Regions from separate parts of the Homo sapiens genome. Here region 1 is linked to region 2. Evidence: promoter capture Hi-C in 16 types of primary human blood cells and fetal thymus (Javierre and others, 2016). All regions are on one chromosome and are shown on one strand. Each heading gives the region's core, a stretch centred on a gene start or on the middle of the fragment in contact. The rest is flanking DNA. Distances are from core to core; before and after follow the strand shown.

Evidence for each region. Contacts are between HindIII fragments. The CHiCAGO score rates a contact against its expected background, and 5 or more counts as called.
Region 1: a fragment that was not itself captured here is called in contact with the fragment with the promoter of DEDD in region 2 in 7 of 17 cell types (megakaryocytes, erythroblasts, neutrophils and 4 more); the score reaches 9.1 in megakaryocytes.

Annotation. Positions count from the first base shown.
Region 1 is chr1:160,675,416-160,681,514 of GRCh38, forward strand. CD48 (CD48 molecule) reads right to left here. Exons shown (of 4, transcript NM_001778.4): 3 at 5,787-6,053; 4 at 3,331-3,716. The coding sequence ends at 3,637. Among named protein-coding and RNA genes, the nearest start is that of SLAMF1, 31 kb to the left of the region's middle. RefSeq lists an enhancer at 6,019-6,099. The HindIII fragment of the contact is 1,066 bases long and covers 4,200-5,265 here.
Region 2 is chr1:161,129,916-161,136,789 of GRCh38, forward strand. It overlaps DEDD (death effector domain containing), which reads right to left and starts at 2,752. Exons shown (of 6, transcript NM_032998.3): 1 at 2,636-2,752; 2 at 900-932. LOC112543491 (linc-UFC1) reads left to right here and starts at 5,235. Exons shown (of 1, transcript NR_156734.1): 1 at 5,235-6,874. RefSeq lists enhancers at 1,622-2,445, 2,907-3,216 and silencers at 2,267-2,486, 2,537-2,886. The HindIII fragment of the contact is 8,185 bases long and covers 1-6,320 here.

The DNA of each region.
Region 1 (6,099 bases), core at 3,483-5,982, 450 kb before region 2:
GGTGGTAAATGAATGAACTCACTGATCTGAGGGGCCAGGTCTATTTATATGTACCCCTACCTGGTCCCAACACAAGGGCCCAATCCAAGCTGCTTATTTGTGCAAAGCCAGATATGAGGGTTACTTTCTCTTAGTCCACAGGAGCTCCTGGCCTTGCCAACCTTCCATGTGTAACCTCATGCTGGCTGTTGAGACAAGCTGGTTCCCACCCCAGACCTACTGATTCAAAGTCTGCATTTTCACAAGATCCCCAGGTGATTTGCTGGCAAGTTAGAGTTTGAGAAGCACTGACCTAATCCAAGGCTTTAAGTTTTACTTAAACTTGCTGCGCTGGAGCCAGCAGAGGGCAGTGCAGGAGCTTGCCTGAGCCGCCTGAAGGCCAAGGGGAAGCAACTTATCCTGACACCTCAGTTCACAAGAGTATACTCATGACTGGAAATTGAGGCTAATTCTGGAGTATCCTCTTTGCACAAAGACAAATGGGCTTGTGTATACTGATAAGGGAACACACTAACCTTTATTTATTTATTTTTTTTTTGAGGATACAGGGTCTTGCTTTGTTTCCCAGGCAGGACTGGCAGTGGCTTTTCCCAGGTATGATCACAGCACACTGCAACCTCCACCTCCTGGCCTCAAGTGATCTTCCTACCTCAGCCCTGGGAGTAGCTGGGACTACAGTGTATGCCATTGCGCCCAGCTTCTACTAACTTTTGATGCATAGACAGATATGAGGGGCTGGGGAACATAAGAACCAGGCCTTGTGACTTCCAGAGAAGGCCGTTGTCTTGGTGTAAGATATTAGTTGTCCTTGAGGTAAATTTGGCTTCACGGGCTTGTGACCTGTACAGTGACACGGGGCCCCAGGTCAGAAGGGCCTTGAACCTGGGTTAGTGCTCTGCTGCTGCTGACACTATCTGGAAATTCTTGATAATTTTCTCTTTCAGCTTCTGCTTAAGCATGCAGGTGAGAAGGGAAGATACATGTAATCTGCATGTCTGCCACCATTCCTTGTTACCCTTTTTCATATCCCATGAGCACAGCACTCCAGCGGACCTACCCAAAATATGTGGGAGTTCAGTGAAACTCAAAGTAAGTGCAAAGTGGTCACGTTATGGGAGCCACTGGCTTTCACAGAGTGTTGGGAGAATGTGTATGCAACAAGAAGTAAAATAAAAAAGTTAAGTTGGGTTTTCGCAGCGTTTTCACACTTCCAATAAGAACAAAATATATATGCATGCATGAGCCACGAAATAGAAATTGAGTAATTGCAATGATCCCAAATATGAATTAAATATTCTATTTTCATTTAAAACTAATGTTTTAAAATATAGAAAGTAAAATTCATGATAATTTAAGTTTTTAATTTGCCTTTACTTAGAACAGCATTAAATAGCAAGCAAATAAAAAAATACCATCTCAAGTAGAGAGACTGTGGAAGAAAAGAAAAGGCTTAATATTTCAGTACTTTTATTGGCACATTTTCCTTGCTTTTTGAGCAAGGGGAGCCAACATTTTCATTTTGCACTGAGCCCCACAAATTATGTATCTGGCACTGCCTTGAGGGATGGGAGGAGCAGGGAACCGTTGGTGTCTGTGACCTGAGCCGTCTAAGGTGAGATTTACCTCAGGTTTCCAGTAACTGGAAATAATACAAATACAATGTCCGCAGAGGCACGCTGGTTCCTCAGCAGCTGAGGAATGTGCTTATTTGTGACAGAAAGTGGCATTTGTTTCCTTCTTACTGCTTGTTTATCCCATTCGCGCTCGCGCGTGTGTGTATATGTGTGTGTGTGTGTGTGTGTGTGTGTGCGCGTGAAATTCCCCCCAAAACCCTCTTCTTCCACTGAGAAAAGTGAGGGGAAGGAAAAGGGTGCTGCTTACAGAAAGGGGATGGAAATGGTCCACCTGTAGGATGCAGGATACTCAGAGGTGAGTTTGGATGGAACTGCAGGCTGCTCAGAGATGAGTTCAGATGGGGATGCAGGCTGCTCAGAGGTGAGTTTGGATGGGATGCAGGCTGCTCGGGGGTGAGTTTGGATGGGGATGCAGGCTGCTTAGGGGTGAGTTCAGATGGGGATGCAGGCTGCTCAGAGGTGAGTTCGGATGGGGATGCAGGCTGCTTAGGGGTGAGTTCAGATGGGGATGCAGGCTGCTCAGAGGTGAGTTCAGATGGGGATGCAGGCTGCTCAGAGGTGAGTTTGGATAGGGATGCAGGCTGCTCAGGGGTGAGTTCGGATGGGATGCAGACTGCTCAGAAGTGAGTTTGGATGGGGATGCAGGCTGCTCAGAGGTGATTTTGGATGGGACTACAGGCTGGGCTCAGGGTGGGGGGTTTCTTCGGAAGCCCAGGCTGTCTTGTGGAAAAGACAAAACCCTACCTTTCTTATCATGCTTGTGCAATGTAGGGCAGGCAGCTGCCTTCCAAACAATGGCTCCGATGCAGTTCCTTGCATCATATAGCCAGACTTCCGAAGTCCTTCACTCCTGCCACATCCATGCCGCCCACTTTCTATTGGACAGATTTCATCACATGGCTCCAGCTAAACACAAAAGTAGCTGGGAAAAAGAGTTTTTTCACTCACCCAGGGGAAAATGAGAAGGTTTGGCAAACACATAGCACTGTATCTGTCACCGAGGAGATGGGGTGAGGAGGGAAGGGCCACGAGGGAGATGGGGGAGGCTGGTCTGGTTTGAAAGGCAAGCAGTCTGTGGTGGGCAGTTTTCTGAAGGGGAAGTGCATTCTGTAGTGACCCTTTCAGCTCCAGGCACATGAGGAGACTTAGAGGAGGGGACATTAAGCAAAAATCCCAGGTGTTATGTCAGTGGTGGGCCTGGGGGCGCCTACCTGCATATAGTGGACAACTCTGGTGAGAACACTGTGTCGATCTGATGGTTTTTTTGGATCCAGTGAAACGACTAGGAGTTGAAGACTTGCCCACACAGTCAATGGAAAAGAGGAGAGAGAATTCAGCTCCCTATGCGAGGCTTGTGGGGCAGGAAGGCTTCTTATGAGATAGAGCTGCATCCTTCCTTCTGCGAGAGCAAGCCTGAACCTATGTTTGCAGCAGACTTAAGGAGAGTGGTCCTCAGAGGGGTCAGAGCAAGGCAAGCCACTGGGAAGGAGGCAAAGGCTTGGCAGGGGAGCTGGAGCCCCAGGAAGCTTAGCATGGATGTTGGAATAAGGGTCAGAAGTAGCACAAATTGGCTCCTCAGCTGTGTTGACACACAGGAGCCGGTGGCTCCAGGCTCTCCCCTCTGTGTCTCCAGATTCCAGTTTCTCCCAGCTGATGGAGCAGGCACTGTCTGACAGATTTGGGACAACTTCAGGAATTCAGTTAATTGACAATTATATCAAATGTTTATTTTAAAAAATAATAAAACATTCACATAATGTTGTCACAATTTTGGGTGGGAAAAAAGCATGTGTATCTCTATATCTCTGTGTACTAGAAAACAACAAAGGGATATAAAATTAAATAATAACCAGTATTTAAAAGTTAACTTGAAAATCCTCGTTGATAATTCAGCAGCATGCTTCTGGTCAGCCTATACAGTCTCTGTCCTGGTGAGGAGCATGATCACCAACAGGCAAGATCTTCTGGCCTTGAAGTTTCGCTTGAGTTAAAAGAGCTCATCTCAGGTAAGTAACAGGCCAAGAATGGTGGGCACCGTGACCACTAGCCAACTTGCAATCCATTCTACTCCAAAGGACCGGGCTGAAAGAGCAAGAAAACCCTATATGCTTAGGTATCTTTATCTTGACTAATGTATTGAGAAGGGGCAAGTGTACTGGACACTGGTGTGGGAGCTCACAGAGCAGGGAAATTAATTTCTTCCCTGAATCCCATCCTATTTGGCTGGGACATTCTTTTCCTCAATCTCCCCAAACATAAAGTATAAAAAATGCAGAAATTCCTTAAATATCACTGGCTTACCTGGGCCCTGTGCTCAAAGGTTACCTCGACATATCTGTGGCCTGGGAAAGCATTGCTCCCCTACTCTGGACATCAACGAGGTAGGGTAGATCTTCAGGTACAGACAGATGACCACATGATACAATGCACAGCTGACTTTAGAGAGAAAAGGACCACTTCCTTTCCTTGTTTCTCTACCCCACTAAGTATCTGCACCAACTAGGAAGAAGAAGGGAAGAGAAAGGAAGACAGAAAAGGAAAGGAAAAGAAAAAGGATGGAAGGAAAGCTTAGATGCTGGGGTGGGGAAGGGCTGAGCTGGAGAAAATAAAAAAAAGGAATGAGTGATACAGTAGGGAAAGGAGTTTGAGGGGGCTTTCTAGGATAATTTCGGTGACTAAAAAGTGACAGATGGGTTTACCCTTCCAAAAAAAATGGATTTATTATTGCTTTTATCCTCTCTTCGGATGAACAGTCACACCCATTTTATAGAGGACAGGGAATGTGCGTCTTCCTTTTTCTGGATCTCAGGATGTGATATTGATATGAGGGTGGTGTTGGAACCACCAGCCAAATTGTGTTCTCATGGTCAGATACCACACTGTCACAGTGGGTCTGTGGTGGCAGAAGAGCAAGGCATATCAGGAGAGGCTGGTAGAGACAGGGCCAATTAGTTAGGAAGAATAAGGAAGAGCATACACAGTCTCCGTAGTCCACATGTGGGAGTAGAGATAAAGAAATCAGTGCAGTTAAGGAGGGTAGACAGAGCCCAGGAAGACCACAAAACAGCAACGTTCTCAGAGGCCAGAATCCCTGATGACTGGGCATGACAGGGGTCACAGGTGAATGTGAGCACCTCAGGTCTGAGTTATTCTAGAAGAATGTGTACGCTAGGGCTCAGGGATCTGACTTCAGGATTGTGGAGGGTATCTGACTCTGGTATTTCCCAGAGTGCTGGAGATATTGATCCAAGTTTATTAAGGGTCCCCAAAACTCTAAGAGACTGCGTCTCATTTAGCTCCCGCTTACTAAGGACTTGTCAGCCACTGTGATAGGCAGTTACGTGTCTTGTCTCATTGAATCCTTAGCACGAGATAGGAACTGTTATTTTGTCCTTTATTTAGGAAGAACATGACTTGGGGAAGCTAAGTAACTTGTTTAGCTAGTAAGTGACAGTCCTAGAAGTGACCCCAGGTATGACTGACTCTAAAACCCATGGCCTTAGCTGTCCCATGCTAGCACCAGTGTAGGCCTGATCTAGAGCCAGGTGTGACACTCATGAGTGGATCCTCCCAGGAGACAGGGGAATCTGGCTTCCTAAGTTCATCTAGGAACATCAGGCTGGGGAGGAGAAGCTTCGCCTGAGGCTCAGGCTCTCACGCCTCCTCGACGGCCTCTCTCAGGCCCGTCTCCTCAGTCCCTCTTTCCCTGGCTGACTTTGGCGGTCTAATGACCTCGGTCCCTCTTTCCTTGGCTGACTTCGGCTGTCTAATGAAGCCCCTCTAGACAGCTGCTCGCCCACTTGCCCTTCCTTCTCCCTGCTCACCCTGATGTTTCAGTCTACTCTATGATGACCCTGGCCTCAGATGTTAGGACTATGCTTTGTTAGAGCGGGAGAGGGAAGAGGAGTATCAGAGATCTCTCCCAAACGTCCTTTGCAGGTGAGAACACTGAGCCCCCACGAAGTTGAGGTAAGCTGGCTGGGAGGTGGTGGTAGAGCTGGTGGCAGAACCCACGTCTCCCAGCTCTCCCAGACACCTTAGGGATTCACCACCACACTGTGCAAGGAGGCTGAATAGGACCCCCAGCCTTTCTTTGTTCAAAACAACTCCAGTTACCCTGTGCCCCCCTCAGCTCCCAGGGATCCTTCTTACCCAGGGTACAGGGTGGACTGAGGCAGACCGTGCCATTCTTGCTGCTCACAGAATTGCTGACTTGGCAAGTATAACACCTGGAGTAATTATGTGGCATAAGGGTGGTTTCAAGCACACTGTTCTGGAGCTCCTTTGGGAAGGGCCTTTTGTCCCCATACCAGGTGTAGTTTACAGACTCGCCAGGTATCACACATGACAGTTTCAGATAACAGTTGTCATCCATGTCTTCTATCTTCTCAATTTTGATGACAGGCTTGGGTACAGGGTCTGAAAGTGAGGAGGATGTTATAAGATGAGACAGTGAGGCATTCAT
Region 2 (6,874 bases), core at 1,502-4,001:
TGGAGTTTTGCTTTTTTCTTTAGAGAAGTCCAAGTCAGCCAAGGGCCAACAGTCTATAGGTATCTTCAGGATTTCCTCCTGATTGGTCCTTCTCTACTATGTTTCTACTTCCAAGCAAAGTCTGGTCTCATCCCAACCAGGAATATCTGTAGTTTTTGAGGTACTTGGCTCTCTCAGAAGCCCTTAGGGGAAAGCGACATGAAAGAAATAAAAAAGAGTGCTGTCTTGAAATGAAAATGACAGTCATCTTTTCTGAACAGGGATGATATTTGTAATTTCATAGAATTAAGAGATATCTGACTCTCTCAGAAGTCCTCAGAGGAAAAGTCATGCAGAAGAACTACAAAAAAAAGTGGTATCTTGAAACTTAAATTAAAACTACATAGAAAATCTTAAAGATGGTTAAGAGTACATTCTTGCTGGTGGGATAGGAAATGTAATCAAATATCTGGAAGTCAGAATTACATAGTATGTTTTCAAAAGAAGGATGCCAGGAACCCCCCAACAGCTGAAAGAGAAAGTTAGAGGAAAAGTTTCCCACGGAAGGAAGGTGTCCCAGCAACCCTCCAAGGGCAACATTTAGTAGACAATGTACTAGAATACAGCCTTCCATATGTTAAAAAAAAAAAATGTTTCAGAGCTGACCAAGAAGACTAGACAATAACAAACCAAAGCTGGGGGATTGTCCCAAGACATCTAAATCTCCTTCTCTTTCACCTCCTATCTCCAATTAACTAAAGACAGTGATTACAACAGATCTCATGCACTCAGATGGATGAATGATAACTCATTTTCCCTGGCATTCTCCTCCTCATTAATGGACCCAACCTCAAAATAACTCCCATGCTATTTCCATTCCCTTCCATTGTTTGAAAACAATAAAAAAGTTCCAGACTTACCTCCGCAAGAAACTTAATTTCCCAGGTCTCTTCCTAGCACAAGTTTCACAGCCAGCAGCAAAACAAAAACAAATAAGGAGGGGAAAATAATTAATTTTCAAGTTTTACTTTGAAACCTCAGAGGCCCATAGAATTAGACAATCTCGTTGCAAAAGTACACAGACAAGCCTAAAACCATTTAGAGAACTCACCCCCAACAAGTCTCCAGGCTTCCCTAACTCTCTATTAGTCAATTTACAAAAACAATACCAACTCCAAGAATTTCCAGTCTCAATGGCTTGCGGCAAGACAGCTCCCAAATTTAAGAACTTCTGGGAAAACCAATTACCCTCTGGCAGCTTCTCATCTTCCTCCACAATTCCTTATTCCTATTTTGTTACAATATTAACGTTAACTTTCACCTTTAGAAAAAACTGGGAGGAAAGTGGTTACAGCAGACCAGCACTATCCTCCAAATTCTACATTTGGCCCTTTCCCTTAACTAGCACACAATGAGAACAAAATATCTAATGGCGCAGCATCCACTCATACGTCTATGTTTCACCAGGGAAAAGTTTTTCTACATACAGTATCCATGTTACCCCCTCCCTTCCAGACTTAAAACAGCAAAAGGGTCTGGAAACTACAGCACTCATTTAATTAACCTGTCTAGATGCCACTCTATCTTTTCTCTTTCCCTCCTCAGACTTCCAGAGCCTCCACCTTAGCATATAGGGTTCCAATATAGCCATGTCTGCTCCCCCACTCTTGTATTGCTAATGCTAAAAACTAGAAAAGTCCTTTGCTCCTCCACACTTGGGCGACACCGGCTTCCCCATTTTCCCAAGCAGGAAAAACAAGGGAACAGTAAGCTAGGGAGTCTTTTGGAAAACAAACCCAGTTGAATTCTCATCCAACCCCAATTCTGCAAACCCACATGACCATTCCCTTCTGCCCTTCCCACCCTCTTAAAAGCTAAGGGCCTGGCAATTAGAATTGGCTGCAACTGATGCTGCTTAACTCTGTTCTCTCCTCCTCTCCACCGGGGAAAGGGAAACCCCCGAACCTCTATCACCCGTGCAGCTCCACTGTCCTATCTCCCATTCCACTCCCCTTCCTCCCAAACTTTCTTCCTCCCAGTCTCTCACTTTCTCCATTACCTCCTCCCACCGACACTCTCTCCATTCCCCAAGCCTCCGTTCTCTCCTTTTCCACCCAAATTCTCCCCTAGGCCCTTCCCCCTCCCACCTCCAATTTAACACTTTCGAAGCCCCCCAGAAACGTCTTAACTCCAATTCTGACCTTTACCCACCTCCTCGCAACACCCCTCATCAGAGTCCAGTCCTCCCTCCAACCACATGCCACAGCCCCCTTCCCCTTCACACCCTCAGCCTCTCCCTCCTGCTCCTACCCCCTTCAATACGAGCGGATCGCAGCCCCACTCCCCACCTCGGCCTCTCTAATACCCCTGGCTGGGCCCAGTCTCAGCCCTTGTTTACGCCCCTCCCCATGCCCTCACTCCTCCGTCTCGACCCCTGCCCTCTCCCGCAGTTGCCATCTCCCCTGCACGCCCCCCTCGGCAGCTCCCCTCCCCCACCTCTCAGCGTCCCGTCACCTCCCTCTCTTGAGGTTCTCAGGCTGGACGTCGCCACCGCCTCCCCCTCCACTTTCCTTCCCCAAGCCCTTTGCGGCCCCGCCCGGCCCCGCCCCGTCCCGCTCGACTCCCTCTCCCCACTCCGGCCGCCCCTCCGCCTCACTCTCGGCTCAGGCTCGGCGCCGCCATGTTGGATCCATCCGCGCCGCTCTCCCGGGCCTGCCTCACGGCGCCGCATCCGGGCTCCAGCAGCCGCCGCCGCCGCCGCCGCCGCGGCCGTGGGGGAGGGGACAGGCGGGCGGGGGTGGCTGCATCCTGAACGGCGCCTCCCGGAACCCGGCCGGTTAGTGGCGGCTTCGAGGCCATAGTGAGACATGAGCCGGAGTAGCCATAGTAAGTGAGGGCAGCCTGGCAGCGGCATTAATCGGGGAGTGGATAGCTTCACTTCGGGAGGAGAGATAGAGATTGGCAGCCATCTTGCTTTGGGGCAAGCTGGCAACGCCGGTTTGTCTTGACGGCTGCTTAGGGCGGTAATAAGGGATCGAAGAGGATAGCATTCTTGAATGGGAAACATTGGTGGCGCCACAGCTGGCTGGTGGCGACTTCAAGACCCACTGGAAGGCTGGGATTGGCAGCCATGACTCATAAGGGCGGAATACCACGGGGATCGGTTTGTCTGGCGAACTTGAGTGAAGGGTCAAGATCTGGATTTCACCTTTCCTCTGAGCTTCCTGATAACCCGGACGTTCCGTAAACCCGGATCCGGAGCCGAAAGTGGTGCCCAGATCCCGTCTCGGAATTCATTTGTTCAGCATTTACCTTTTGAACGCCGGTTTCCTGTAGGAAGTGTCGCCTAGCTGATCCGTGTAGGGCTGTTGGGAATTGGGGGTGGGGAGGATGGTGCGGGTACGTTCTGGTGTGGCTTAAGAAAGTGGTAATAGATAGGGGAAGACCAGATTATGCGAAGCCTTGTAAATTAATTGATTTTTATCCTTAAGGCAATGAAAAGTCTTTGAAGAATCTCAGCAGAGGTGTGAACAATTTCATTTGCATTTTAGATCGCTGCGTGCAGTGTGAAGGATGAATGAATTGAGGAGAATCAAGGAGAGCAGTTGTGAGGCTCTTTTCCAGGCAAGGATGATGATGGTCTGCCTGTGGAAGGGAGAGTGCGGATGGGGAGATACAGATTGGTTTAAGAGGTACGAATGTTGTGACTTGGACAACTGGGGAATAATGATACCAGTTTCTTTCTCGTTTAGGGGGGAGATAATGAGTTTTAGGTGCCCCTGGGATATTAGCTAATGTGGGTTGGGAACTCAAAAGAAAGGTTTGAGGTGTGTGTGCGTGTGCATATAGATAGCTGTTGAAGCCATGAAGTGGGCTGGAGAGGATACCTGCATTTGCGGGATAGGATGAGGGAAGCCGAAAAGAACACTGAGAAGGGGCAAACCGAAAGGAAAGAAGAAAACCATAGAGAACTATCAAGGAAACTGGTGAAAGCGTTTAGTGTAACAGAGATATAGTAAAATGCTAACTAAAATATATACATCAGGGCCGGGCATGGTGACTCACACCTGTAATCCTAGCTTTGGGAGGCCGAGGCGGGTGGATCACTTGAGGCCAGGAGTTCGAGACCAGCCTGACCAACATGGTGAAACCCTGTCTCTTCTAAAAATACAAAAAAAATTAGATGGGTGTGGTTGCACATGCCGGTAATCCCAGCTACTTGGGAGGCTGAAGCATGAGAATTGCTTGAACCCAGGAGGCAGAGGTTGCAGTGAGCCGAGATCGCGCCACTGCATTTCAGCCTGGGCACCAGAGCAAGACCCTGTCTCAAAAAAAATGAAATAAATAGGCCGGGTGCTGTGGCTCACTCCTGTAATCCCAGCACTTTGGGAGGCCATGGCGGGCAGATCACCTGATGTCAGGAGCTGGAGACCAGCCTGGTCAACATGGTGAAACCCCGTCTCTACTAAAAATACAAAAATCAGCCAGGCATGGCAGTGCGCGCCTGTAGTCCCAGCTACTGGGGAGGCTGAGGCACAAGAATCGCTTGAACCCAGGAGGCAGAGGTTGCAGTGAGCTGAGGTCGTGCCACTGCACTCCAGCCTGGGTGACAGAGTGAGACTCTGTCTCCAAAAAAATAAAATAAAGTAAATAAAATGTATCTATCAGATATTGCAACAAGGGCCAGGCACAGTGGCTCACACCTGTAATCCCAGCACTTTGGGAAGCCTAGGCAGGTGAATCACTTAAGACCAGGAGCTGGAGACCAGTGTGGTCAACATGGCAAGACCCCATCTTTACAAAAAATACAAAAATTAGCTGGGCATGGTGGTGCGCACCTGTGATCGCAGGTACTCCAGAGGCTGAAACATGATAATCACTTGAACCCAGGAGGCGGAGGTTGCAGTGAGTCAAGATTGCACCACTGCACTCTCGGCAACAGAACAAGACTTTGGTTTTTTTGTAAATAAAACAAATAAATAAAAAGGCCAGGTGTGGTAGCTCACACCTGTAATCCCAGCACTTTGGGGACCGAGGTGGGCCGATCACCTGAGGTCAGGAGTTCGAGACCAGCCTGGACAACATGGTGGAACTCCCATCTCTACTAAAAATACACAAATTAGCCAGACATGGTGTCGGGCACCTGTAATCCCAGCTACTTGGGAGGCTGAGGTGGGAGAATCGCTTGAACCCAGGAGGCGGAGGTACAGTGAGCCGAAATTGCACAATTGCACTCCAGTGAGACTCTGTCCCCCCAAAAAAGATACTGCAACAAGGAGGTCATTTAGGAAATTTGGAGAAAGCTGTTTTGTAGTTATGGTGGATAGAAACCAGATTGAATTGAGAAGGCACAACGTATAAAGACAGTTTTTTCATGGTGTTGATGTAAAAAGGAGACTAGTGGTAGGGTGTTGCAGGAGGGAGAATTCCAAAGAAGGTGAAGAAGTTTTAGGTACCTGTGAGATAGCTAGATAGATATGTCCTAGTGGCATGTTTAATACACAGATCTAAAACTTAAGAGAAAAATATAAGTGGAGAAAAAAAGCAAGCACAGAATAAATATGACACATTTACACATGCATTAAAAAATTATGAAGAGTGGGCCTAGGAGGGATAAGACTTATACTTTTCATTTTACATCTATCTTTATTGCTTGAAATTATTTTATTATGCACATATTATTTTACAGAAAGCTACTTTTTTTTTTTCTTTTTTGAGACAGTCTCGCTCTGTCACCCAGGCTGGAGTGCAGTGGCACATCTCAGCTCATTGCAACCTCTGATTCCCAGGTTCAAGCAATTCTCCTGCCTCAGCCTCTTGAGTAGCTGGGACTACAGGTGCACGCCACCATGCCTGGCTAATTTTTTGTATTTTTAGTAGAGACGGGGTTTCGTTATGTTGGCCAGGCTGGTCTCAAACTCTTGACCTCGTGATCCACTCTCCTCGGCCTCCTAAAGTGCTGGGATTACAGGCGTGAGCCATGGTACCTGGCCAGAAAACTACTTTTTAGAAAGCCCTGTGATATATAGGCCAGAAATTCTGAAACATCAACATTTCGGTGGTAGTTGAAGCCATAGATTTGGATAAGCTCCCCAGAAAAGAGCAGAGGGCTAAGAAGAGTGCTCTCGGAAATTCCAACATTTAAGGCACAAGTAGAAAAAGAGCTCTTGGAGAATCTTTGAAAAGGAACAGCGAGTGAAGAAGAAGAAAACCTGGGAGATAATTGTCACAGAATCAAAGGGAAGAGTATTTCAAGGGGGTGGATGTTGAAAGTGTCAGATGTCCCCACAGAGGCAGCTGATAGGAAAGGTGCTCTTACCTCTGAACCTAGGTTTCTTGGAAGCTTGGCACAAGAGTCAAATCCAGATCTTGAACCTTTCCCCAAGTATCACTGGGCAGTACAACCCCCAGGCTATTCTGCCCTTATGCATCATGGCTGCCAGTCCCAGTCTTTCAGTGAGTCTTCAAGTCAACACCAGCCAGTGCTGGCACCATCAATCTTACTACACTTAATAATGATACCCTGGCTGGGTGTGGTGGCTCACACCTGTAATCCCAATACTTTGGCCAGGAGTTCAAGATCAGCCTGGGCAACATAGTGAGAGACCCCATTTCTACAAAATTTTTTTTTAATTAGGTGGGTGTGCACTTGCCTGTAGTCCCAGCTATTTGGGAGGCTGAGGTGGGAGGATCACCTGAGACTGAGGAGTTTGAGGTTGCAGTGAGTCCTGATGGCACCATTGCACTCCAACCTGAGTGACATAGCGAGACCCTGTTTCAAAAAAAAAGAAGAAGAATGCTACCCTCTCCCAGTCCTTACTATGGCCCTGAAGCTGCCATCAACAAAAACCTGTTTTTCTAGAAATGGTGAAATTAAGGAATTGAAAGTGGGAGT